Linked DNA regions of Homo sapiens: regions 1, 2 and 4 are each linked to region 3. Evidence: promoter capture Hi-C in 16 types of primary human blood cells and fetal thymus (Javierre and others, 2016). All regions are on one chromosome and are shown on one strand. The core of a region is centred on a gene start or on the middle of the fragment in contact, and the rest is flanking DNA. Distances in the headings are between cores, read along the strand shown. Region 1 overlaps GRIK4 (glutamate ionotropic receptor kainate type subunit 4). Region 2 overlaps GRIK4 (glutamate ionotropic receptor kainate type subunit 4). Region 3 holds the start of GRIK4 (glutamate ionotropic receptor kainate type subunit 4). Region 4 overlaps GRIK4 (glutamate ionotropic receptor kainate type subunit 4).

Region 1 (6,557 bases), core at 66-2,565, 150 kb after region 3:
GTTAGCCAGGATGGTCTTGATCTTCTGACTTCGTGATCCACCTGCCTTGGCCTCCCAAAGTGCTGGGATTACAGGCGTGAGTCTGTATTAAAATTAAACATTTTAATACTACTCTCCCAATCCAGGCACCTGGGATTAGCATATCCAGGTGCTCATCAGCCGCACCCTCACCCCAGTGAAGCCAGCAGAGCTGGCTGTCGGCAGAATCTGGGTCTCAGTGGGGGCCAAGGCACGTGCTGCCTTGGGGAGAGGCAGCTCCCTGCAAGGTTCTGGATTTGACATCAGAGGCCCACCCACCTCAGGAAGGAGGAGAGGGATTGGTAGAGGTTGGGGGTGGGGCTGGTTTTCAGCGGTAGTAGAGCAGATGTGGAAAGCAGCTGATAACCTGGGAGGTGTGTGTCTGCTCTCCATATTTGCTAGGAATGGACCGCTCCCATCTGGGCCAGGGAGGACCTGACATTTATGTAGCACCTCATTTAGGCCAGACCCTGAGCATGGTGGCTTCTCCGATGTTACCTTGATTCTTCTTTAGTTCAACTCCACCAGGAGGGGTTGTTATAGTACTTTTACATGTGAGGACACTGAGCCGAGACACAGAGGGGACCTTGTGAAGGCCACACAACTGGCAAGTGGAAGAGCTGGCCTGAACCCAGTTTCCTCTCACACCTCTCCTCAGTGTGCAGTGCCTGTGCTGCGTTTGGGGAAATGGAGTAACCCTCCCAACTCTCCCATCCCTTCCTCTTCTGCTCACCCATGGCTCCAATTCCTTAAGGGCAGATGAGGGTTTTGTTTGTTTGAGACAAAGGCTCGCTCTGTCGTCCAGGCTGGAGTGCAATGGCGAATAGCGCAACCTCGGCTCACTGCAACCTCTGCCTCCTGTGTTCAAGTCTGTGACACAGGGTCCCGAGTAGCTGGAATTACAGGCATGCGCCACCATGCCCACCTAATTTTTGTATTTTTAGTAGAGACGGGGTTTTGCCATGTTGGCCAGGCTGGTCTCAAACTCCTGGCCTCAAGTGATCCACCCACTTTGGCTTCCCAAAGTGCTGGGATTACAGGCGTGAGCCACTGTGCCTGGCTGCGAGCAGATGAGGTTCTTCATTTCTAATGACACGCCATGAATCATCCAACCACAGTTACAGCAACCTGCCCCATGTCGGTCACAGAGCTGAAGTTAGAACCTGAGCCTTCTTTGAGCCCGGCATGTAAGGAGGAAAGACAAAGGGGCCTCTCCGGCTCCTGGGTGTCACTGGGATGGTGGGGCAGCTGCCTAGCTGGAGCCTGGGACTCACGTGCCCCCAACCCCCTCTCTCGCAGAGTTATGTCATGCCCAGGCCAGCAGGGGGCTCCATGAGGATTCATAGAAGATGCCCCGCGTCTCGGCGCCTTTGGTGCTGCTTCCTGCGTGGCTCGTGATGGTCGCCTGCAGCCCGCACTCCTTGAGGATCGGTAAGTGTGGCCCAGCTTGGGGCAGTGCCCCCACCCACTATCCCAGGTGTCCACAAGGGACATGAGAGTGCTGCACAGGACTTGGGGAAGCTGCCCAGCCCGTGCACTGTGCCCTCCCTGAGTGTGGCTGGGGTGAACATGCAGGTGGTGGTGGTGGAGGCAGCTGACAGGTGACCACTCCGATCTGGTCAACCTGCTGAGCTCCCCGGCCACTAGAATAAAGATGCTGATAACTCCCTAGTGCAGTCAATGTAGGTTCAGCCTAGCAGGTTAAGAGGCAGCTGTCGGGGAAAAAGGAGGGTGAGGATGGCCATGGGGACTCCAAATCTAGGGCTGGAGATGGGAGAAGAGGTCCCTTCTTTCCTGTGATCAGTCCAAGAAGGCTTCCTGGAGAGAGTGCTATGTCCACAACTTGGAAGAAGCCAGGAGTCTGCTGGCGTGGCCTGGCTGCTTGGAAGGGCCCTTGACATTGGGTCTGCTTGCTGTGGCCTGGCTCTGAGAGGGAGGGCAGGGTCATGTGAGTCTCTCCCTTGCCTTGTTGCTGTGGGACGCCCACTTTAGGTGTGGGCAGGCGGGCTTCCACCTGAGCCCTCAGCATCCCATCCCTGGAGGGGCGGGTCTGGGAAGTCAGGTGCCTCCTCCCTGCTGGGACTGAACAAGACTTGTCAACTGCAGGTTGAGGCTCTCTAGATCCTGGTTCCTGGGGACACAGCCAGCCACAGGGACAAGGACACAGTTCAGTCCGGCAGGCGCAGTGTGGTCATCTGATGGCCCAGCAACAGAGAACCCATGGAATTAGGACAGATGTGGGGTGTCGGGGATCAGGGGTGTCTATGTGTACATCGGGGGATGGGGATTAGTGTGGACAGGTGGGTGGGGCACAGCAGTGACAAACCCAGAAAGGTAGGTTGATGGCCACAAGACGACCCATCCAACAGCAGGGCCCCAAGGGTAGAGTTAAGTGACAGCCCTAGAGGAACTCAAATACCAGGCAGGTTACCCCAACGGATAACCACATGAGGCCCCTCTTCCCACACTGGGGGTGGGGTTGGGGGTGGGAGCAAAGGCAGGAATCTAGATCTTAAACCTGAGCCTGAAAGGGTTAGAGGCTGACTTAGAGCAAAGATGGCACGATGCTGAATCTCAGGGAGCTGACTTAAAGCTCCCAAATTCCTCCAATTGCATTCAGGTCGGTGTGCTGGTGATGGTCAGGAGGCCATGGTGTGGGCAGAGGTGGGCGAGCAGCCAAAACCTGGCTAGGCCAGGGGTCACAGGCCGGAAGCCCAGCCTGCAGGTCTGTGAGCTGCTTCGTTTTACCTTGTGGGCACAGTTTTTCATGCAAATGCAGAGGAGCTGATTGGAATCAGAAATGTGGACAGGTGACCCAGTTCTCCCCCTCACCCTGCCCTCGACACACTGCTCTGCATGCTTAAAAAAAAAGAAATTAAAAAACAAAATTTTCCCTCCCTCTTCTCCGTTCATTTTTACAGAAACTTCAAAACCTAATTTAATTCTGCTTAGCAGCAATGCAAAACGGTTCATATCCTTAAGATGTTTAATTTATAAGATGCCTATAGTTTTTCAGCGTTTGCTGCAAGGTCTTCTCCCTCTCTAAATGAGTGAATAAAGTGGCAACCCATCAATTTCCATTTGTCGCTAATGGGAAGCGGAAAGGGATTGAGCCAGAATCAGTAGCACCTCATGGCCTCGCCTCTCCCGACACTTGTGCTCTGGGAGGGAAGCAGAAAGCGGAGCTGACAGGTCCCTCTTTTGGCTGCCACAACAGAGGGCTTCAAAGGCACCCCTCGTGCTCCCAAACCCATACTCTGAACAATGCTTGTTCAGCTCTGTCAAGACTGCTGGCCCTCAGTTTTGGTTCATGCTAGGCCACTTCCAGCCGCTTTCCAGCCAGGGGCCCTGCTGGCTGGCAAGGTCAAACCGGGCCTAATCTCCTGCAGAGGCCAGGAAGCAGAGTTAAGCCAACAGAAAGGGAAGAAAAGAAAAACCCAAACAGCAGTGCCAGGACCCGTTCTTCCTGTCTCCTTGGTTAGCCTGAGTGCCAGGAGCTTTTTAAAATCTCCCAATCCTTATGGATGGAAAGTTGCTAATTACATGGACTCCAGAGGGGATGTGGAGTAGCGCAGGGATGGGAAGAGAAGTGGGTCAAGAAAACACAAGTAGCTGTGCTGAGCAGCAGGCAGCCTTGCATGCAGATGGGCTGGGCTGGCGTTAACTGTGCTGGGGTCTCTGGGGTCCTTGAGAGGCTTATGGGAAGGGAAGGGGCTGCTGCTCCTCTCGCCTTCCCAGGGGTCACTTTTCCTTGCATTTGAGTTTTTCTGGGGTTTTCCCCAACCCCAGCCTCAGAATGGGTGGCTCTCTGAATGGGGCTGCATGAAGAGACCAGGGATCTGAGAGATAAATCGCCCTGTTTGCTCCATCCTCAGCCCCACTTGTCTGCTGGTGACAATATGGATGTTTGGAAAGAGGTGGCCGAACCCATTACCCTGCCTTGTGATGGCTGTTTTTCATTCAAGTGAGGTACAGGGCAGGAGATACAGCCAAATTGTCTATTACAGTGTTTGGTGTTTACCCCTCGAATGAGGTTTTGGGTAAAAGAAAGGGATTTTATTTATGGCTGTGAGGCTGGCTGCATAAATTCCCCAAACTCTCACACATATGTCAACCCCTTCCATCATCTATCTTCTGAAAATGTGTTTGGATTTTGCTTCAGTCCCTCTGGGTCCTCTGAGTGATAACTGTGGAGCCACAAGTTAATAAATGCCCTGAGGAGACCCCACCCCATCTTTGCACCCCCTTCATTACTTAAAGAGACCAGAGATCATTGTCATTCTTAGATCCGGAAGGGACTGTAAGGATTCGTTATCTAACCTGCTCATCTTGCAAATGAGGAAACAGGGTCACAGCAGGCAGTGGTTTGGCCAAGGTCACCTGACAAGTAGGGGCCTGGCTGGTGGCAGCTGACACTGGTGCTGGTATCCTTGACTCCTCTTCCAGTGCTCTCTTCTCCATGCACCCATGGGCTCCCTTAGCTGCTGAGAAGCAGAATCACCTTCAATAGTATGTGAAGGTTATATTCTCCTACAGTTTCCTCCATTCCTGTTCAGAAAACATTTCAGACATTAGCAAATGTGTTACCCTTGCCCCTAACACCTTGAGACTCATTAAGTATTTGTTAACTGAATGAACGCTAGGCTCCAAGCCTACCTCTTGTTACTCCTTCCTTGGCTCTGTATTTTACCTACACTAAACCACTCCCTGTGAGCCAAATATACCAGGAGGATTTACTCCCAGCTTTACCCATTCCCCTGCTCTCCCTATAGTGCTCTTCCTCCCGTTTCATCTTCTCTGCCTGCAAAACAAATCCAGCTCCTCCTTCTACTCCTCTTCTTTTTCTTCGTCTTCCTCCTCCATCACCATCAGCTTAAATGGCTCTTCCTCTGCAAAGTCCTTTCCCGTTATCATCCTGTCCGTAAGAGGGAGAATTCATCTTTTTCCTACCATTCCCCCATTCCCCCAGCACATAACATCTGTTCCAGCACTTGCCGTGTTATATTCTAAAGATTATGGCATTTTCCCACTAGACTCTGAACTCCATGGGAGAGTGATCCCCAACAGAAGGGCCCAACACATGATGCAAAGAAGTATATGGGTGCAGTTTAATGAATGTGATGGATAGATGAATCCATGGTTCTTGCAAGACTGGGTTTTCCAATAACATGTTTGGTATCATTGTTTTAAATGGCACTGTCTTACCTATGCATAAAGAGGTAAACTTATTGGAGAAAGTAGAAGAGAAAGGAGAAAGAGGAAAAGGAGAAAATGTCCATCTGTCTGTCTTACTTAAAAGAGAATAGGAATGGGCTGAAGATCCTGGTTGGGTTCTAATGAAAGCTTTGGCAGTAATAATAAACTCAATGACACAATTATTCATTCATTAATTAACTCAACAAATATTTATTGAATGCTATGTGCCAAGCACTGAGGATGCAGTGCTACCAATAATAATCAAAATAATAACTCCCATTCTTTGCCTGGCACTGGGCTAAGTATTCCCCATATCTCACCCAGTTTCATTGGACCAAACAATCCCCTGTTACAGATGAAGCAATGGAGGCTCAGAGGGTTTAAATAACGAACCTAAGGTCACACAGCTAGTGAAATTTGAACCTGTCTCCAAAGCTGTCTCTTCCTGCTCTTCTAGAGCTGATGACCCCCTGGAAACATTTGGGATATCCCATTATCACAGCCATCACATTAAATACATTGTGTTCTGCTGGTAAGGAGTTGAAAGATGGAATCATCATGGCTAATATAGTTTCCTGCTCTTTTATGGACACTTTTTACCTCAAAAGCATTTCTTAAAGGGCACAAAGTCTAGTTGAGAGATGAGGAAACTGAGGCATGGGGATTTCAGGGCTCAGTCGAGGTGGCAAGGGAAGTTCTGCTCAGCATGGGCATATTAGACACATCAGCAGGTTATTGCAGCAATTGAATCTCTCTTGTTTAAGGTTTCCCTGTGTGGTAAAGCAGCAAGAGCTTGGATTTATTTTATACTCTGTCTTACGAGGACCCTCCAAGCACTTTATAACTGTAATTTTTTACTTAGTTGGTTTCCCCCCAATGAGCTCCAATTCTGTACGGAGAATGTTCAACATAGAACATTGAAATGTTATAAAGATAAAGATAATAGGAGAATTGGGGGAGACAAGGGAAAAGGATAAAAAACACCAGTTTCTTATCCTGTTATGCTGTGTATTAAATACATCTAATCCACCGAGATTCAAATATACCAGCTGAATTCTTTGCCTTGTAGAGGATTCACCATGGGTTTGTTTGAGCAGTGGGCTCCTCTGATCATGTTAGCACATGATTTGATTTATGAAATTTTGATCAGCATGCAACTTTTCATCTCATTTCCAAATTGAGTCACCCATATAGACAATCAATTGGTCTTTCACATTAGTGACAAATAGAAATTGATGACTTTCTCCTTCATCTGTCACCTAGGGGGGGAATATAGAAGGATTTCTAGGACATAAATCTCTCCCCTGGTAAGCACCTTAGGGAGGCTGTGTCTTTCTTATTCA
Region 2 (6,489 bases), core at 808-3,307, 200 kb after region 3:
AATGCAGAAAGCACCAGCATGTTTTGTGCTTAGAGCTCTTTACCAGGCGAGGTTTAATTGCAATGGGATTTATGACCGTAGCTTGTAGGAGGTAATAGATGTAGCTGTGTCTCTTTTATCTTCTCTGGCTACAGAGGATTTTTTAAGGGAGGAGGAAAGACAAGTGGGGCTGGAACTGGGAAACTCGGTGAGGTAGAGAGGTGGCTACGAGGGACTTGATGAGTCGCAGTTGCTAAGGTTGCCCTAAGAGATGTACAACATGAATATTCATAGTTCTGTTCACTTAGGTGACTGCTTTGCTAGCTTTATCTCTTCACAGCAGCTTTGGAAGATAGGGAAAGGAAGGCTCAATTCTCCATTTTACAGAGGGGGAAATTGAGTCGAGAGTGGATTTGCTGCGGACTCAAAGTCCCATTGAGAGTCATGAATAGAATTGGGGCTGGAATCAGGTCTTGTGCTCTGCTCTTCCTACCATAGAGCACCTGCTTCTCCAGCATTATTCACAGGATTTCATCCTGGCTCATCACTCATTCCTCTTCCATCATTATTTAAGAGATAATGTCTATGACAGCACATTGTAAACTAAAGTCTAAAGGTGCTATCCATAGTTGCTGTTGTTATGACTGAGGACTTAGCTGTGTTGAGACACCATGTGGATGCAAAAGTGTATGCTATGCTCTCCCAGCCTTTCAATAGCGGTGACTTTAATAATGTCGGGAATTCACCCAGTCTGGAGGCTCATTGTGACTTACAATCCACAGCTCTGGGGTTTTGGAGAAAGGAAAGTGCTAGTGCGTGTGATTATTGCAAGCCAGAGTAAAGATGAGGGGCTTTCAGAAGGAAAGGACTAACCTTTTCCTTCCTGCCTTCCCTTTCTTAATCCACTCGCGCTATTTATTTTTTCTTTCAGCAGTTATTTATTGAACACCTACTGTGTGCCAGGCACTGAGCCATGTGCTATGAATCTAGTGGTACATGGGGAGAAGTGGTTTTTTGCTTCTTGGAACTTAAATCTCGTGGAGGTTAGGGAGAGGACACAGAAGATTAAGCACTTACTGAAAAGTATCAAATGTGTCCTAATAGAGGAAGTATGAAGTACTACAGCGTCCCATAGCAAGGCCCTGTGACCTGGTCTGGGAGTTAAGGATGGCTTCCTAGAGGAAATGACTCAAGCTGAGACTGGAGTTTAAATAAAAGGTAGATGTTACTCTAGATGAAGGGGACATGGAACAGTGCTTTTTCAGGGCCTGAGTCAAGAGAGAATATGATTCTTTTTGAAATGTAGGGAGAGGGGGAGGTGGGAACAGATGAGCCTGGAGAGGTAGGAAGCGGTCAGATCATAAAGGCTCTTAGGAGTCTTGTTAAGGAGGGTTCGGCTTTAGCCTAGTATAAGGGAAAGCTACTGGAGAGTTACAGGCAAGGAGGGACATGATCAGATTTCTATTTTGGAGAGACTCCTTTAGCTGCAGAGTGGCAAATGCATGGGAGGAAGCAGGTGTTTGGTGTGGGTCCTGCTGATTCTGAATTGCCTCTGGGCTTTGCACTGGAGGTGTCCACCCTGTAGGTAACTACCTTCATCCGTGGGACTGGAGCTCAAAAGACAGGTATAGGCTGGAAATAGGAATTCACTGTATCTCTGCTGGCACGGGGGCACTAATGCTTATCCTGGGCCAGGTGCTGGGATTCGGCTTATCTGTGGAGCAATAATTGAAGCCAAGGATATGTGTGATCAAGGGAGGGAGAAGGGGCCCTGGGGCACAGTCCCGAGGAGCCCCAACCTACGAGGGCAGGCAAGAAAGTCGACCCTGCAATTAATTCAGGAAAAGGAAGCCCTTTTGGAATCACAGACCTGTTTGAGCATCCGTTGTCGGAAAGCGGTGGGTCGTGTCTCATAAAAACAAAAAAACAAAGTAAAACGAAACAAAAGCAATTGGAAGCTCATGAACCCCCCTAGAGGTTGTTCTGTGAATGCAGATGAAGGACCCCTGGCCTAAAGTGTGTTCCACCCCTCCATGTTCCTTTCCTTTTCTTTCCTGTTTGTCTGATTCCAACGCTCCCTCTCTCTCCTCTTTCCCCTCCATGTTTCCTTTTCTAGACATTCGTTTTCCCCACCAACACCTTCCCAGTCAGGTATGGAGAACGACATTTGCAAAAGGCTTGGGGATTCTCAAATTCCTGTGGCCCCAAACCTCTGGGAAGAAAACGTCCCGTGTTTGCAGCTTCATTTCACACCAGGCCACGTGGGCGCCACACCCGCTCCCTTTTGTGGGGCTGCTGTACTGGCGGCAAATGTTCCCACTTTTGAGATAGAACTGGGGAGACTGAAGCAGAAAATAGGACGCAGCCTCCTCTGGGTTCCAGCCTTAATTTAATTTAAATGAATTAAACATATTCTTCCTGAGCCCCTTCTTGGTGGAAAGCACAGTGGATTCCAGGTGGGGGAAGTCACCCAAGCAAAGGCTCATCCTGAGCAGAGAGTGGGCTTCTGTGTAGTTCAGGAACTGGGCATGTGGGCAGTGGGGGAAGGCGGCTAACAGGCAGGCTGGAGCCTGATGTCAGCACTCCTAAATGCAGGGAGGGTACGGAGCCTCCACTGTTCTGTAGGCAATGGTGAGCTGGCTAAGGCTTCTGAACTGGGAGTGACTCTATCAGAGCTGAGAAGAAGGAACCAGAGCTTGATTTGCAGAAGTCCAGACCTGGATTTCTGTAGTTATAAAGCTCATTCACTACCTGACATGATTTTTTTGGGGGGTGGGTGGGCGGGATGGAGTCTCACTCTGTTGCCCAGGTTGAAGTGCAGTGGCCTGATCTCAGCTCCCTGCAACTTTCACCTCCTGGGTTCAAGCAATCCTCCCCCCTCAGCCTCCCAAGTAGCTGGGATTACAGGCGCCTGCCACTGTGCCCAGCTAATTTTTGTATTTTTAGTAGAGATGAGGTTTCACCATATTGGCCAGGCTGGTCTCAAACTCCTGACCTCAAGTGATCCACCCACCTTGGCCTCACAAAGTGCTGTGATTAGAGGTGTGAGCCACTACGTCTGGCTACGCTCTATGTGAATTGAGTGACTGCTATGTGCAGGCTCAGAGCTATGGTACAAAAGGTGCAAAGAGAACTAAGATGCAGTCTCTGCCTTCTAAGTGTTGGCAGCCTGGCTGGGGAAGCAGAAACTGAGTATAAATAGATGAGGAGGAATCCCAGGCCCCCAGCACCCCTGACCTGACATTCCCTCTGCACAGGAATCCTTCCAGCAGTGAGAGAAGAAGGAATTCTTCTCTCCCTGAAGTTTCCAGGAGAGACAGCCTTTTCCAGCTGCCACCGCTCTGCTCATCAGAGTGCTAAGGATGGATCCACAGGAGAGGGTGGTTCTGCAGCATGATTGTCCCTGAACTCCATTTATCAGCTCAGGGCCCTGGTAATAAAATCTATTTGCACAGCCATGGACTGAGAATTTAGCTCAGATGGTTAGAGAGGGCGTGCTTAGGGACTAGGATCCAAATCCTTTAAATATTTGCTGTGGGGATGTCTTCATACCCAAGAGGGGAAAGGATGCTGCGGCGGTGGCTCCTCGTCGCTCTGACAGGCAGTTTGGGGTCCAGCCAGGAGATTTTTCCTGCCGACGGAATGCCTGTAAATGGAGGCCAGGTGCCCTGTGCTCATCGCGGAACTGGTTGCCTTTGGTCACCTTAGTGTGAGCCTCAGGCTGGGGTCACAGCCATTGCAAGGTAGCTAATGGCTGGGACAGAGGAAGCAACTGCACACACCTGGGTGGTGGGCAACGCTGCAGGAACAGGCTTTCAGAAGGGCAGCTGCTGTGGGGCATCCTTTGGCAATGTTTACAGTATCACGAGGTGAGATGTTACTGCCCCCTGGGGCTTCTTCCCTACTTCTCCTGTCCCTTGAACCTGCTCACAGGCGGATGAGCATGCCCAGGATCTGGCAGTGCTTAGGGATTGGAGAAGGATGGGCCCACTATCTCCTTTGCCATCCTGCCAACACACATGTCCCAGCCTGCATAGAAAGACACCGCAGGGCCAGGAAATCTGAGTCCTAAAAGTTTAAAAAAAAAAAAGCGATGGGAGAACTTGATTTGTGATGTTGGCTGTATCAGTTGACCTCTTTGGTCCTCATTTCCTTACTTACAAGAGGGGAAATAAGAATCCTCCTGCTTCCTGCATCACCAAGGTGAGGAGAGGAGACTACATGGGATGAAGAAAGAGAGGGCTTGGGTGGGGAAAGCCTGCTGGGGGTGTGTGGGATTCTGATCAGGGAAGCCCAGCCGCCCAGCCTGGGGTGCCCTTCCAGCTCTGGGCTTTGTGGGCAGGAATGTGCTCTCCCTGGAGCTGAGGCTCCACGGGCTTAGGCCTCCTGGAGGCTGAGCAGCTGGGGGATGGGGAGACCTCCCAGCAAGGCTGGGGTAGGAAATGGCCAGCCTGTACCTCCCTGCCCGCGTCTGTAAGCTGAGGCGGCTGTCTGTGGCAAGAGGGCTTGAAAAGATTCCGAAAAGAATTAAGTCAGTGCCATGGTTTTCCCCTTAAGTGTCTGTCTAGACACAACACCTGATTCCAGGAAAGGATCATAAGTCCATTTGCTTGTTGCTTTGGGTGCTGAGAAGCCTGACTTCTCCCTCCTGCCATCTTCCCTCTCTTCCAGGGTGTTCCTCCCTCTCCTCACCAAGAGCAAAGACAGGACTCAGCCCTGGAGTTCCTAATATGTCCCCTCAAGTCTGTAAGTCCATCAGGGACCTCCCAGCCACTCCCTCCTCTCCCCGTCTTTACCCAGGCTTTCTGGAAACAGCAGAAAAAGCTCCAACTCCCGGTAGCCTGAGGAGTGATGTGACCAGCGTCTCTGAGTCATGGAGGCATCCATATTCAGGAGAGGATACTTGCCAGTTTCCATTTTCCCTGAGGACAGAGCAAGAAGAGATAGGCTTAGGCAGCCGCAAGTGGATTTAGGCTGGGTTAGACAAGAGATTGGTGTCGCTGGATAATAATGTGGTTCCCTGCCACTCTCCTCTCTAGCGTTCTAAGCCAGGGACACTTAACCTCCAGCCGCAAGTACAGCCTTGCCCCGGCATGGGACCAATCCTGTCCTTGAGATGGAAGGAAGGAGGGAGAATCCAACATGTATTGAGCATTGTCTGTACGCTGAAGCTGAGCAAGGCACTTTCATATCCAAGTCACCTTAGGTGGGCAGGTGGATGTCCAGGGCTGTGGGTCTGCCGCCTGGGAGGGCCAGCCTGGCCGCTGTTGCCTGTGCCCAGGACCTGCCAGTACCAACCTTGGTCCTGCCTTGACTTAGCCTGGGTTCATACCTCAGGGATGCTTGGACCTTTAACCCTTTCCCGTCGTACTTGCCCGTTCAGTCCCTTGCTGACTACAATCAGAATGGTTTCAGGACTGGCTAAGCCCTGTTTTTAAGAACAAGAGTTATTAACCATAGGAATGGTTTGCTAAGAAAGAAGGTGGCCCTCCCCTTTCTAGAATAAGGTATAGAATCAGGCTTAAAGAAGTAAAACAACAGGTTTTGCGGGTTTTTTTTAGATACACATTTACTCTTTATTTTGGTAAGTTGCATAATTGAGTTTTTTTTAAAGTGTATAATGAATATTTTGAATTTTAAATAAACAAGATTTTAAAGAAATCCAACAAATCAGAGATCTCACATTCTTCTGCAGAGACACCATCAATAATTTCATAGCATTTTATGCATGCTTGGGTGAGTCCTTCATTAAAAATAAGCTTTTAAAAATAATAGGCTGTAGCAACTTCTACAGCCACACATAAAGTGGTATTTCCTATAATCTGCTCTGGGTAGAGGCAGGGAACTGAAGGCAGTGTGTGTGAGGGGTTAACCAGGTGGCTTCCTTCCAGAGATAACCTGGTAGAATATGAAGGTTTTAGAGTGAGACGGATCTAGATTCAAATCGGCTCTGATACTCACTGCCTGTGTGACCTTGGGCCAGCTACCTTCCCTTGGATTCTGAGTGCTCCTCTTCTGGTAAAGTCAGACTGTTGATGATACCAGCTTCCCAGTTGTTTTGAAGATGATCTGAGATACAGCCTGTGAGTCAGTCTCCTAGAGGCCTAGTGAGCTGCTCCCACAGATCGTCACTCCCTTCCCCTGACCCTTCCCCCTTTCCTTCAGGTCTCAGGAGTCCAGAGTCATTCATACATACTCTTTCTCCCACTGTAAAGAGGTATTTAATCTGAAATGAAATAGTTACATAAGCTTCTCTCCTGCCCAATATTCAAAACCAGAATTTATAAAATAGAAAGCTAAGCAACAATGACTAGCCTTATTCCAGAAGGATCCTTCTTTTTATGTATAGGTATTTGCTAAGGCACTTCTACCGCAGAGCATTTTTCTCTCCACATTAGCTGCTGCTGTTATCCATTTGACAGAGAAGCCGAGAAAAGAGGCTGAGAGCTAACGGCTTAAATGTTAGGAACCTTTGTTCCCTAAAGATCAATTCAAGAAAGAGATAAGGTA
Region 3 (6,375 bases), core at 1,145-3,644:
TGGCTGTGAGGGATGTTTCAGATGAGAGGTTCTAGAGGTGGGAGCCCCATTTCCCAACCCTTCTGTTTTTTCATTCAAGGCAGCAGCCTCAGAGTAGATCAGCGGGGCCAGCCTCGTGGCCCTCTGACATTCTCCCCCTGTGGCTTCCAAAAAAGATCTGGACTGACCTTCCCACCCCTGGAGCTGAGCTTGAGAAGTCAGCTTGCCTGGAATTGAATTTTTTCAGTAGTAAAAAAGGTGGAGAGCAAGTAGTAAGTATCCCAAAGAACTCAACATCTTGCAGCAAGGGGAGACAGGAGAGTGGGTGGGGGCAACCAGGCTGAGGCTAACAGCAGACTTCTGTACCGGCAGACTTCGCTGACATTGTTGTCCACCCTGTGACTGGTAGGGACTCCCTGCTTCTAGGGGCAGAGGCCTTAAGAAAGGAAAAGAAAGTCAGAACCATTCTTGCAAGAAGGGGAGAAACCAGGGCCCTCAGGAGGCCACAGCCAAGACTATCTCCAGAGCCATCAGCAATCTCTCTGACCTGCCAAAAGCTCCTCCCCGCTTCCCTGGTTAATAGGATGAGATCACCAGGCAAAAGAATATGATGAAGCATTTCACTTATATAGTATTTTTCTTTCCAAACACTTAATAAGCCTCTCTGGTCTCGCTGATCTTGCATTCTTCCCGTGAAAGGGGCCAGGGATCCATGCTTGGCATTTCAGAGTTTGCGCGGCTTGAGAGATCATCTAGTCTGCTTCCCTCACTTTTAGAGTTATGGGAACTGAAGTCCAGGGAAGTGAAATCGCTTGCTGGGATCACAGGGATGCCTCTCCCTCCTCCCAGCCCCGTACACTTTCTGCTAGGCTTATGCTGCTGTTCCGTCCATTTTGCACAAGAGAGGGGGTTCCAGAGTGGGGGAATAGAGTTGGAATTAGAAATTAGTTTTGTGTCACTGGCTTACAGGTGCTCTTAAACCTTAACAGGTTTAACATCCTCTGTAAAATGGGACTAGTGTCACCTCAACACCTACCTTGCAAAGTTGATTATTGGGAATCACACTTGTGTAAGCGGTATAGTCTTGGCAAACAGTAGGTGCTAAATAATGTCTGGCTGGAGGAATGGAGCCCTGTTCGCATATGGCATTCATCCAGCCAGTGTGTGGAGCTGGGGGAGGGATAGGCACGACTCCTGAAGCAGGAGGCCCAGTACGCGCCCAGGCTAGCCAGCCAGCCCTCCCCGGGGAATGCAACGTCCAGAACAGTCTATAGTCCCGATAGTATGCCTCATGCGTGAGACCTGACCAAGGACGTCTGTGAACAAACCCTTCACAGAGAGCTTAATGAGATTGTGGGAGTGCTGGTGGTTGGGTGTGGGGATACAGGCCATTGAAGGTGAGAGGGCCGGTGTGATCAGTTTGGTGGTCTGCCCAAGACAGAGACTCTGCGGGTTGGATAAGAGGGAGCTAATAGGTTTGAGGGGGTCACGTGTCCCTTGCCCTCCCTCCTATTCCCCCAGGACTCCCTCTTCACCCAGCCTCCTCCTAAGGGCAACTCTGTTGTATTAGGATGAACCACACGGTGTACTGAAATGAACCGCGCGTCAGAAAGCGGGGTTGCCTCCTGGGTCCTGCCACTTGCTCCCCGTGTGTTCTTGGCCTGGTCCCTTCACCTCTCCTAGCCTCAGGATCTTCATGCGTAACATGAGATCCTCCCAAGATGTTGGTATGTATACAACAGTGCTCTGGAATGACTCCATGCAAGCTGTTGCTCTTCAGTCTCCTGAACAAGGTGCTCTTGTCTCGTCCCATGAAACCTCCACCTCTCCATCTTCCGCACCACTGAGGCCGCAGTCTCTTCTAACGGGGCACGCTCGTCCCCCGCGCTGTTTCCCGAATGCCACCAGGGGGCGCCCCTTGCTCGCTGAAGCCGCCGGGCTAATAACTCCTCGGGGCCGGGGCGGGCTGCCCCTTTGCGCAGGGCGGTGGAGTGTGCGGGCTGCGCCGGGTTCCCCACCTGAGGTCCGTACCTCGCAGAGCCCGCTTGGCCGCGCGCCCCTAGCCTCTGCCGGGCGCCGCTCCCCAGCCGGGCGCCTCTCGCTCGGCCCCGGGCCCCCGGGCAGCCGCAAGTTTGCCCCCGGCCGCGCGGACCCGCGCCCGCCCTGCCCGCAGCAGCCCCCGCCGTTCCCGCCGCCCCCGCCGCCCCCGCGCCTGGGCTCCCGGGCGACGCTCCGAGGGGCGCTGGGGGGCGCGTGCAGCTGCCCGCGGGGCTCCGGCCCGGCCCCGAAGGGGCGCCCCCCCGGCCGGCCGTGCGCGGGGCCGCAGCAGTTCCCCAGCTGCCCGCCGGGCGGCGCCCCGCGCCTCGCTGCGCTCCTCCCGCGCTCCCCGCGCCGGGCTCGCTCGCAGCCGGACACAGACTGCCTTCAGCTGCGGGCGGATCGGGCTGGAGCCGCCACGGCTGCTGCGGAAGAGGAAAAACGGCCAACAGCAGCCCCGCGGCCGGCCCGGCAGCGCCCGGCCCCCGGCTCAGCCCCCGGAGTGCGGAGCCGACCAGGTAAGGGCAGCGGCCCCCCGCGGCGCCCCCGGCCCGCTCCCTGCGCTGCCCCCGCGCCCCCGAGTCCCCTCCGCGCTGGCCCTTCCCGCACCCCGACTTCTGACGTCTCCGCCGCTCCTGCCCTCGGGGGCCGCGGCCCCGCACCCCTGCCCCGGCCCCCGCCCCCGCGCCCTCCTCCCCGCTCCCGCCTCCCGCCAGCCCGGTCCCTGGCACTTCGGTCCCTGCGTCTCCAGATTCGCCGCCGAACCCCCCACCGCTCTGCTCCCGTAGTTCCTCCAGTCTTCACCCCGGTCCGTCTCCCTCCCTCCGCATCCCTTCCCCGGGCTCGCGGTCCTCCCGCTCTGGTCCTCCCCCTCCCCGTGCAACTCCCAGCCCTGCCTCTGTCCCCTGCAGGGATGACAGCCCCTTCCCAGCCTGGCGCGTCTCCCCTACACCTCGTCACCCTCCGCTTCTCCCAGCGCCTCTGTTCCCCGGCTGCAGCCCCCCATCCCGGCTCAGCCTGGCATCCCACCAAGCCCCCTCCCCCTTTCCTCACTGCCATCTGCCTCGACTGCCCCCTGCCCCTGCACTGGACTCGGGCCACCACCACACCCCCCCACCCTGCACACCGCCTTGCTTGGGGGAACCAGCGTCCTATCAGAAATGATCCTCTTTCCCGGGGAGAATGGGGCTCCCACCCATCCCACCCTAGTTCATCCGAGTGGGAAGTGAGGGAGAAACTCTAGAGACCTGCAATGGGCGCGTGATGGGGGAGGGGGCTGGGGCGGAGGGGGAGGGGAGCTGATTTAGATTCTCTTCAGTGAGGACTGGCAGAGCTGTGCGCTCCGACCTGGCTGGGGTGGAGGGCGTGCAGGCGACAGCTGGGACAGGGGGTTCAAGGCACTGAGAGCACCTGTGTCTCTTTCCCTGGCTCCCTTGAGCTGAGCAAAGTGAGGGGAGGAGTTGGAGCCTGGGGAGAGTTGGCTGAGGGCCTTGGGGTGGTGGAGGAGGCGGCCGAGGGGGCTGGGCCCCGGGCGCCTCTGGCCCGTCTGCCTGGCAGTGGTGGGGCAATGCGGGCCGAGCCACTCCCGGGCTGGACCTTGGGCTGCGTGGCTCTTGGCATCTGTACTTGATGCTGCCATCTTCCTCTTGGTGCTGTTGTCTGGTGATGCCACGCGGTGCCACCTCCCTGCCTCCCTCCAGTGGCTCTCCTGGGCATGTCTCCCAAGGGTCTGGGTTGTCTGGGAAGAGGAGGGGAGCTCTGAGCACAGCTGGGCCCTTTTGCCAGGCAGTGGGCAGCTGTCAAGACCAGGCCAAGAGGTCTGAGGGCTGGTCAGGAGGACTGAGCCCTGCCAGGAACAAAGAACTACCTTCACTTTCACTCCCTATGGGTCACCTGGTTGGTAGTGACACTTCTAGGAGCACCGGGAAACTGCGGGCGTGGTATCTCCGGGGAGAGAGGCCGCCTGGGTTGGTAGTGGGCATCTGAGAGACAAATCCGGTCCTGCCTGACTCCCTGACTGTCTGTGCTCGCGTGGTCAGGGGCGAGGGGCTTGTCGAGGTCCACTGTGTTCCGGTCCCACCAGGGATGGCAGCCCCTGGAATTCCACTGGGCGTCATCATGCTGGCTTTATTTGCTGAAGCTGCAGCTCAGGCTTCATCATTAATCAGGTTTATTATTTTTCTCACTGGCCAGATGTGTTCCTCAAGGTCACGACCCTTCGGAGAGTTAATCTAATATGCACACATTACAGTGTCTGGGTTTGTTTAATTTTCCATATTTTGTTCATTCCTTGTGGCCCGGGCTTGCCCACCAGCCTCCCGCCTGCCTCACCAGCTCCACCCCTCTGTCCTCCTCTGGACCTGCCACCTGAAACCCAGAGGCAGCACTGGTCCCTCCGGGTGGGGAAGAGGTGGATGCTCGGGAGGGGAGGTTGAGAGGGGATCTTGGTTTTCTGTGTTTTTCCCATCCCCCTACCTGGGCATCTTGATCGGTGGCTGCTGTCTTCCCCAGCAATGAAAATTCTTCCGAGAGCCTGGGTCGGCTTCGTGGTCTGATTTCCACTTTGGTTTTCCCTTAGGATGGAGAGGGAACTTTAGTACCGGGAGAGAGGCAGAGACTCTAGGAGAAAGTCCCAGCTGCAGGGAGTCAGGGCATCCAGGAGAGAGGAGCTCAGCTGCTTCTGAGGTGGTTCTCAGCCATCCAGAGATGGAAGGGAGGACAGGGGGACCGGCCCTGGGTTGGGGGAGAGACTGCTCAGAAGGCAAGAGAAGCAGCGAGGCGGAAGCTGGCCTTTGTGTGGCTGGCGAGGGTGGGCAGCGCCAAGCGTGTGTGGGAAGGATGCATCTCTTGGTGCTTCTGCATAGTACTAATCCCTTATGTGTGTATGGGGTTCTGCAGCATTCCAGATGCCTCTCAGAACAATTACTTCATTTGATCTCTACTACAGCCCTGCAAGCATCTGATCGCTCCTTACAGACAGCCTTATAAGGAGGCATTCATGACCCAACAGAAACTGAGGCTCAGAGAGGCTGGATGCCTCATCCAAGGCTCCACAGCTGGGTCCCAGGCCCCTGGACGCTCAGTCCAGTGCTGTTGGGCTCGTTGCTGTTGCTTTTTAAGGTCTCAGCTGTTTGGTTCTCAGAAAGCCCACCCTTGGTCCTGCCTGTTCCTCAGTTCATCCCCTTCGCCCTCTCCAGTGATGGCTCACCGTTTTCACCCCCACCCCAGGCCTGGTGGAGTCTTTGCTCTGTAGTCTCCTCAGCCTTAGACTGGCTGCCTGGGTGTCCCGCCACTCCCTAGACCCAACCAACCACCCCCTACCCCAAGTGGGCACTGCCTCTTGCCTCCTCCTTGTGGAAAGAACGGCTGGGTTCCCCCAGGCATGCAGCCGGGGTGCCTGGGGCACCCTCCTTCCCTCTCTCTGGTGCCTTAGGCCTCAGCCCACTCAGTTCTTCTGGGCACTTCGAGTGTCCACTCCGACCTTTGCTCTCCCACTGCCGTGGTCCCTACTTGGGCCTTTGGCTGTTCACCCTGAGTTACGGTCCTGAAAGCTTCCTTGTTGGGCCTCCAGCCTCAGTTTCCAGCCATCCTGCCGCTGTGCCTGTCTTCTTACAGAGGGTAACGCTTCTCACAGGGGACCCTGTCTCAGCAGCCGTCAGTGGCAGTGCCTTCCAAGATGCCTTGCAGGTGAAGGCCCTCTGCACGCTGACCCCAACTTTATGTCACAACGTGGTGTCTGGCATGATCTTGTCCCCCCTCCCCTGGCCACCCAGCCCTGGCACTGTGTGTCCTCACCCTGGCCCTTTGCATTTCCTCCTCTTTTCCTCCCATCCATATATTGCCCAGCCTTCAAGGTGCTGCTGGAAGAGGAACCAGTTCCAGCTACCAAGTATCAGGCAGACCTGGGTTCCTGTCCTCACATCACTCCCTGCATGACCTCGGACAAGTTGCCTCACCTCTCTGAGCCTCACTGCCCTCACCTGTAAAATGGGGACTCTGAGCCTCACTGGCCTCACCTGTAAAATGGGGATAAATCTCACCTGCTTCAGAGGGTTAGCAGCATGGAATGTGAGTGGGAGTGTGACTCGTCCAGTGTGAAGGGCACCTGCATGGGTATGGAGGGCACATTCTCTGAGTGGCCGCCTTCTGCTCTCCCTCTGTATGGGCTGGCTGAGCCCCCTGCTCCTACCTGGTATTGGTAATCGTCTGTCCGTTTGTCTCCCCACCCAGAGGGCAGATTCCTGGAGGAGCAAGGCCTTTGCCTGACACCTTTTCACATTCTCTGACTCCCAGCAGAGCGAGGCTGTTCTTCAACATCCTGTAAATCGGCCCTCTTCATAGTAAGGACATAAGATATAG
Region 4 (5,820 bases), core at 1,539-4,038, 130 kb after region 3:
TAGTAAAGTGGAGGCTGCTCAGATTCCAGCAACAGCGAGCCATGTGGGGTGCAGTTGCTGTGTTTCCAAAGTAAATATTACTTCTTAGAGAAGATTCATACCCAGAATAATTATTTCTTGCGGCGATCTGAAGCTGAAGCTGGTTTAAATGTTCATTTGTCTCTGCCCAGGTTTTTTCCGTAGTGGGGTGTGCCAGGGTGCTTAAAGCCGACACTGCAGAATGCCCCTTCTTTCTCCTGGGCCCCTTTGCCTACAGAACCATACCTCTCCCACCCTGACTTATCTTGTTCCTAGAGTGATGGCATCTAAGCCCTCAGCTTATGCATATGTTTATTATTATTATTATTATTGAGAGGGAGTCTCGCTCTGTCATCCAGGCTGGAGTGCAATGGCGTGATCTCGGCTCACTAAAACCTCCGCCTCCCAGGTTCAAGTGATTCTCCTGTCTCAGCCTCCTGAGTGCCTGGGATTACAGGCACCCACCACCACACCTAGCTAATTTTTGTATTTTTAGTAGAGATGGGATTTCGCCACATTGGCCAGGCTGGTCTCGAACTCCTGACCTCAGGTGTTCAGCCTGTGTTGGCCTCCCAAAGTGCTAGGATTACAGGCATGAGCCACTATACCTGGTCATGTTTTATTATTAATTTAACAATTATATAGCACTTACTATGTGCCAGGCACTCTTCTAAGCTCTTTGACAAATACTGACCCACTTAAAACTCTTAACACTCTACAGAGAGGTAGAGTTACTACCCCTTTGGAGAAATGAATTAGTATCCCCATTTTCCAAATGTAGGAAACAAGGCACAGAGAGGTTAAGTAACCTGCATGGGATCACACAGCTAGTTGGTGGTGGAGCTAGAATTTGTCTTCAGAGTCCATGATGTTTATCCTCATGCTCTGCTACCTCTCAATGATTTCTTCTTCTTTTGCTTTTTTTTTTTTTCTGAGACGGAGTCTCGTGTCACCCAGGCTGGAGTGCAGTGGCATGATCTCGGCTCACTGCAAGCTCCGCCTCCTGGGTTCACGCCATTCTCCTGCCTCAGCCTCTCAAGCAGCTGGGACTACAGGCACCTGCCACCATGCCCGGCTAATTTTTTGTATTTTTAGTGGAGACAGGGTTTCACCATGTTAGCCAGGATGGTCTCAATCTCCTGACCTCGTGATCCGCCCGTCTCGGCCTCCCAAAGTGCTGGGATTACAGGCGTGAGCCACCGCGCCTGGCCCAGTGATATCTTCTAAAGCGGCACGGTGAGCAAGGGCCTGCCTTTTTCAGGGATTAGAACTATTTTTTCTGTGCCCTAATATCATTTCTATCCAAGGTGGCCCTTGACCTTACAAGAGCAGGGGTCAGGCCTGGAGCAATAATCCCACGCCTGATCATGCCTGTAATCCCAGCACTTTGGGAGGCCAAGGCGGGCTGATCACCTGAGGTCAGGAGTTCGAAACCAGCCTGTCCAGCATGGCGAAACCCCTTCTGTACTAAAAATACAAAAAATTAGCTGGACATGGTGGTGGGCGCCTGTAATCGCCCACTCAGGAGTGGAGGCAGGAGAATTGCCTGAACCATGAAGCGGAGGTTGCAGTGAGCTGAGATCACGCCATTGCACTCCAGCCTGGGCAACAAGAGTGAAACTCCATCTCAAAAAATAAAAAATAAAAAATAAAAATAAAAGCAGAGGTCAGTGTCTGGCCAGTGGTCAAAGCCTACAAAGCACAAGCTTGCCCTAAGATTCAGCTGCATCAGGGGCGCAATGGACAGAGGTGGAAAGGTGAACTTGGAGCTTATCCTGGAACCATCTGAGCTCTGGATGGGAGAATCCCCGGGGCCTGCTTTTGTGCTCTTCATCTCGCTACACACACAGCACAGGTGCTCTTGGCACCTTGGGCTCACTATCCCTTGCTCCCTGCCTTTTCCTTCCTCTAATCTCCTGGGGAAGTCATTCCCCTGTCTCGCAGTCTCTCCTCTTGGGGTCGGCCCCTGTCTCAGTAAGTGACTCCATCCTCTAGGCAGGTGCTTAGTCTGGAAGCCTGGAAGGCATCCTTGCTTTGCATTCCTCCACGACCCACATCTGATCCCCAGGTCCTGTCAATTCTACCTCCTAAAAAGCTCGCAAATGCAAACGTCTCTTCCTCTGCCACTTCTACCTTCCTCATGTCTATCTGTCTCCAGGACCTCTTCAGTGCCCACCCAATGGATGTCCCAGACTCCAGACCTAAACCCTCTAAAACTCTTTTCAAATTGCAGTCAGAGTGACCTTTCCATAAGAAATTCTGGTTATGTCATCCCTTTATGTAAAAATCTCAGTGGCTCTTTGGTACCCCTAGAATACAATCTAGACTTCCTAGCATGGCTGCTGTGGAGCCATCTTTGACCCGGATCCTATTCCCCCAGGGCAGCACCCCTCATTGCCTTTGGATCAGGAAAGATCCCTGTCTCCTGTCCCCTCCAGTTATGGGCTCATCCTCCTCCCATCCCTCTGCTTCCCATTTGTTGCCAGAAAGGGGTCTTGATCCGGACCCCAAGAGAGGGTTCTTGGACCTCATGCAAGAAAGAACTTGGGGCAAGTCCATAGAGTAGCGTGAAAGCAAGTTTATTAAGAAAGTAAAGGAACAACAGTTGTTGCCAGGAATTTGCTTTGTTTACTGTCAGTATATTAGTAATCCTAGATCTCAGAATCACAATAGTAGTAACAGGGGTCATTTTTTCCCAACTTACTCTATGTTCAGGTGTGGAATTTCTGTCTCCCAAGAGGAAATGTGACTTCACTTTGGTGTCAATGGACAGAAAATTCTACCTGTGCCACATAGAAGTTTGGAATGTACTTAATAGCTGGTTTTTATACCTTGATTTCAAGGTGGAAAGAAATTGATTATGAATCTCCAATAAATTTAAATCTCTTAAACCAGTAGGTGCTTAATATTTTTTAATTAATTAATGCCCATTTGAATTTCATGGGTTCTATTAATTTAAAAAAAAATAAGACCCCAATCCATCACCATCAAATTGCCCTTGGACTTTTTCAAGGTATAATATGGGGTTTTATGCAAAATTCCAAGCTGCCATGTAACTTTCTTTTAACCATAACAAGGAGGGAGAACTGTTTCCTGCCTTCTTTACATGTTGTGCATTGTTGTGGTCCAGAAATGATAAACCTTTTTTTTTTTTTCTTTTTGAGACACAGTCTCGCTCTGTCATTCAGGCTGGAGTGCTGTGGCGCGATCTCAGCTCACTGCAACCTCCATCTCCCTGGTTCCAGCAGTTCCCCTGCCTCAGCCTCCTGAGTAGCTGGGATTTCAGGCACATGCCACCATGCCCAGCTAAGTTTTTTTGTATTTTTAGTGGAGATAGGGTTTCACCATGTTTGCCAGACCGATCTTGAACTCCTGACCTCAGGCAATCTGCCCACCTTGGCCTCCCAAAGTGCTGGGATTACAGGCGTGAGCCACCGCGCCCGGCCCAGAAATGCTAAACCTTTTTAACGATGGTGCAACTTTGTCCTTGGCTTGACTCTACAGGCTTTGAACTTCGTGGCATAGCCACTTTGCCATATCTGCAGGAGAGCTGTTCTATGTGAAACATCTCAGAGTTGCAAATATCACATGTGAATGATATGGCTACTTTAAGAAGTGTCTGTATTGTATTTGAAGACTGTTTGCCATGAATCTGAAATTTGAATCTGTGTATTTCAATTTGGTATGCTAAAAAGTCCTGAATTAGTATAAAGATTTTTTTGTTATAATATTGTAATCTCAGTTCAAAAGTTAACTGAAAATGTAAAACCCAAGTGATTTCTATATAGTAAATTGAACTGTAAAAGTTAAAAAAAAAAAAACAACTAAAGGAATAAAGCTTGGCTACTCCATAGGCAATGCAGCCCACATGGCTGAGTATATTTATAGTTGTTTCTTGATTATATGCTAAGCAAGGGGTGGATTATTCATGAGTTTTCTGGGAAAGGGGTGGGCAATTCCCAGAACTGAGGGTTCCTCCCCTTTTTAGACCATATAGGGTAACTTCCTGATGTTGCCATGGCATTTGTAAACTGTCATGGCGCTGATGGGAGTGTCTTTTAACATGCTAATGCATTATAATAGGCATATAATGAGCAGTGAGGATGACCAGACTTCACTTTTGTTGCTGTCTTGGTTTTGGTGAGTTTTGGCCAGCTCGTTTACCACACACCCTGTTTTATCAGCAAGGTCTTTGTGATCTGTATCTTGTGTTGACCTCCTATCTCATTCTGTGACTTAGAATGCCTAACTTCCTGGGAATGCAGCCCAGTAGGTCTCAGCCTCATTTTACCCAGCTCCTATTCAAGATGCAGTTGCTCTGTTTCAAACACTTCTGACGCTTTGGCTGATTCCAACATTGTTTGGGTCTCAAATGTTCTTTCTTCTGAGGAGTCTTCTCTGACCACCCCCGCTTCCCAAGCCTGGTTTGGGTGCTCTGTTCCGGTGTTCCCATGGCAACCAGGAAACATCCTCTGTGATCACACTGTCCACTTTGTATTGGGATTTGATGGCTACCTGTGTGTTTTTCCCAACACACATTATCTGTCTTGCACACAGCTATGTCCCCAGTACGGAATACAGTGCTGAGTTATGGAAGACAGTTTTTAAAAAAGTTATTAGCCAGGTGTGGTGGTGTGTGTCTGTGGTCCTAGCTACTCAGGAGGCTGAGGTGGGAGGATGGCTTGAGCCCAGGAGGTCCAGGCTGCAGTGAGCCATGATCATGCCACTGCCCTCCACCCTGGGCAAGATGGAGTAAGACCTCCATCTGTAAGGGAAAAAACAAAACAAAACAGGTCACTGAGCCAGTACTATCACGAAAAGAACATTGACGGAGCAGCTGGGAGATGCGGGTATTAGAACCTGTTCTGGGACAAACTCTGGACCTTGGTTAAGTCATTTTCCCTCTCTGGGCATTTTTTTTTTTTTTTTGTATCTGTGAAGTAAGGAATCTATGCTAGGTGGTCCCCAAGCTCCCTTCCGGATGTGAGGTCCTGGGACCCATCTTCTGAACCAAGGCTTCACTCTTCTCATCTCTCTTGACTTTCCAGGCTGTGAGGCCCCATCTTCTCCCTCTCCTTGGCACTCCTGTCCCTTCAGGATGTGCTGGGAAGCAGAGCCTGGCATCCTGCCTTCAGCGGGGCTCAGCCACGGCCAGCAGCGGCCTTGGGTTCTCCTTGCGTCCAGGATGAGAACTCCTTGAAATTCTCTGCCGTCCTCCTCCTCACCTCATCTGTTTGCTGTCAGAACATTGCAAATAGGAAGCTTCTCATGCTGCCTCTGTCTCTGAATTATTATAACATTCAATAGGGAGGCATTAAATCTACGTGCTCCTGAGGCTGCACTTCCCCCAGTAGAAACAGGAGATGCCTGGCTGCCATGGCCCCCTCCCAGAATACACCCAGCCTCCACTTGCACTGGGAGTGTTTAATCTTAACACCGTGACTGCTCACATGTTTCCCATACTCATTCAACACATTTACTGAGCACCCACTATGTATGGCAGGCATTGTTCTAGGTGTTTAGGACCCATAAAGAACAAAGCAAACAAAATCCCTGCTCTCTAGGAGCTCGCTACTCTTTAGCAAGCGTATAGAGGGGAAACTCATATAAATAAGAAATATAATAAGTAAATTATATAACAAGCTACAAGGGGATAAGTGCTATGGAAAAAAGAAAAAAATAAAGCAGGGTAGCAAGGATGAAAGCCCCCTGAGAGTTAGAGATTTGAGTCAAGGCCTGGAAGAGGGTGAGGGAGTGTGTCAGCTATTTGGAGGAACGTGTTCTAGGTCCAGGGCCCAGCTC

Evidence for each region. The method cuts DNA at HindIII sites, captures the fragments that hold promoters and counts their contacts. A CHiCAGO score of 5 or more calls a contact.
Region 1: a contact is called between a fragment that was not itself captured here and the fragment with the promoter of GRIK4 in region 3, in 2 of 17 cell types (megakaryocytes and M2 macrophages). The highest score is 7.5, in megakaryocytes.
Region 2: a contact is called between a fragment that was not itself captured here and the fragment with the promoter of GRIK4 in region 3, in 1 of 17 cell types (megakaryocytes). The highest score is 6.7, in megakaryocytes.
Region 4: a fragment that was not itself captured here is called in contact with the fragment with the promoter of GRIK4 in region 3 in 1 of 17 cell types (megakaryocytes); the score reaches 6.2 in megakaryocytes.

The regions. Positions count from the first base shown.
Region 1 is chr11:120,658,952-120,665,508 of GRCh38, forward strand. It overlaps GRIK4 (glutamate ionotropic receptor kainate type subunit 4), which reads left to right. Exons shown (of 21, transcript NM_014619.5): 3 at 1,318-1,449. The coding sequence starts at 1,368. Among named protein-coding and RNA genes, the nearest start is that of GRIK4, 150 kb to the left of the region's middle. RefSeq lists an enhancer at 1,306-1,806. The HindIII fragment of the contact is 8,087 bases long and covers 1-5,359 here.
Region 2 is chr11:120,713,501-120,719,989 of GRCh38, forward strand. All of the region lies in intron 3 of GRIK4 (glutamate ionotropic receptor kainate type subunit 4), which reads left to right. Among named protein-coding and RNA genes, the nearest start is that of GRIK4, 200 kb to the left of the region's middle. The HindIII fragment of the contact is 7,357 bases long and covers 1-5,736 here.
Region 3 is chr11:120,509,354-120,515,728 of GRCh38, forward strand. GRIK4 (glutamate ionotropic receptor kainate type subunit 4) reads left to right here and starts at 2,395. Exons shown (of 21, transcript NM_014619.5): 1 at 2,395-2,534. RefSeq lists silencers at 2,006-2,085, 2,266-2,465. The HindIII fragment of the contact is 5,980 bases long and covers 1-5,565 here.
Region 4 is chr11:120,637,548-120,643,367 of GRCh38, forward strand. The region is part of intron 1 of GRIK4 (glutamate ionotropic receptor kainate type subunit 4); the gene reads left to right. Among named protein-coding and RNA genes, the nearest start is that of GRIK4, 130 kb to the left of the region's middle. The HindIII fragment of the contact is 2,132 bases long and covers 1,723-3,854 here.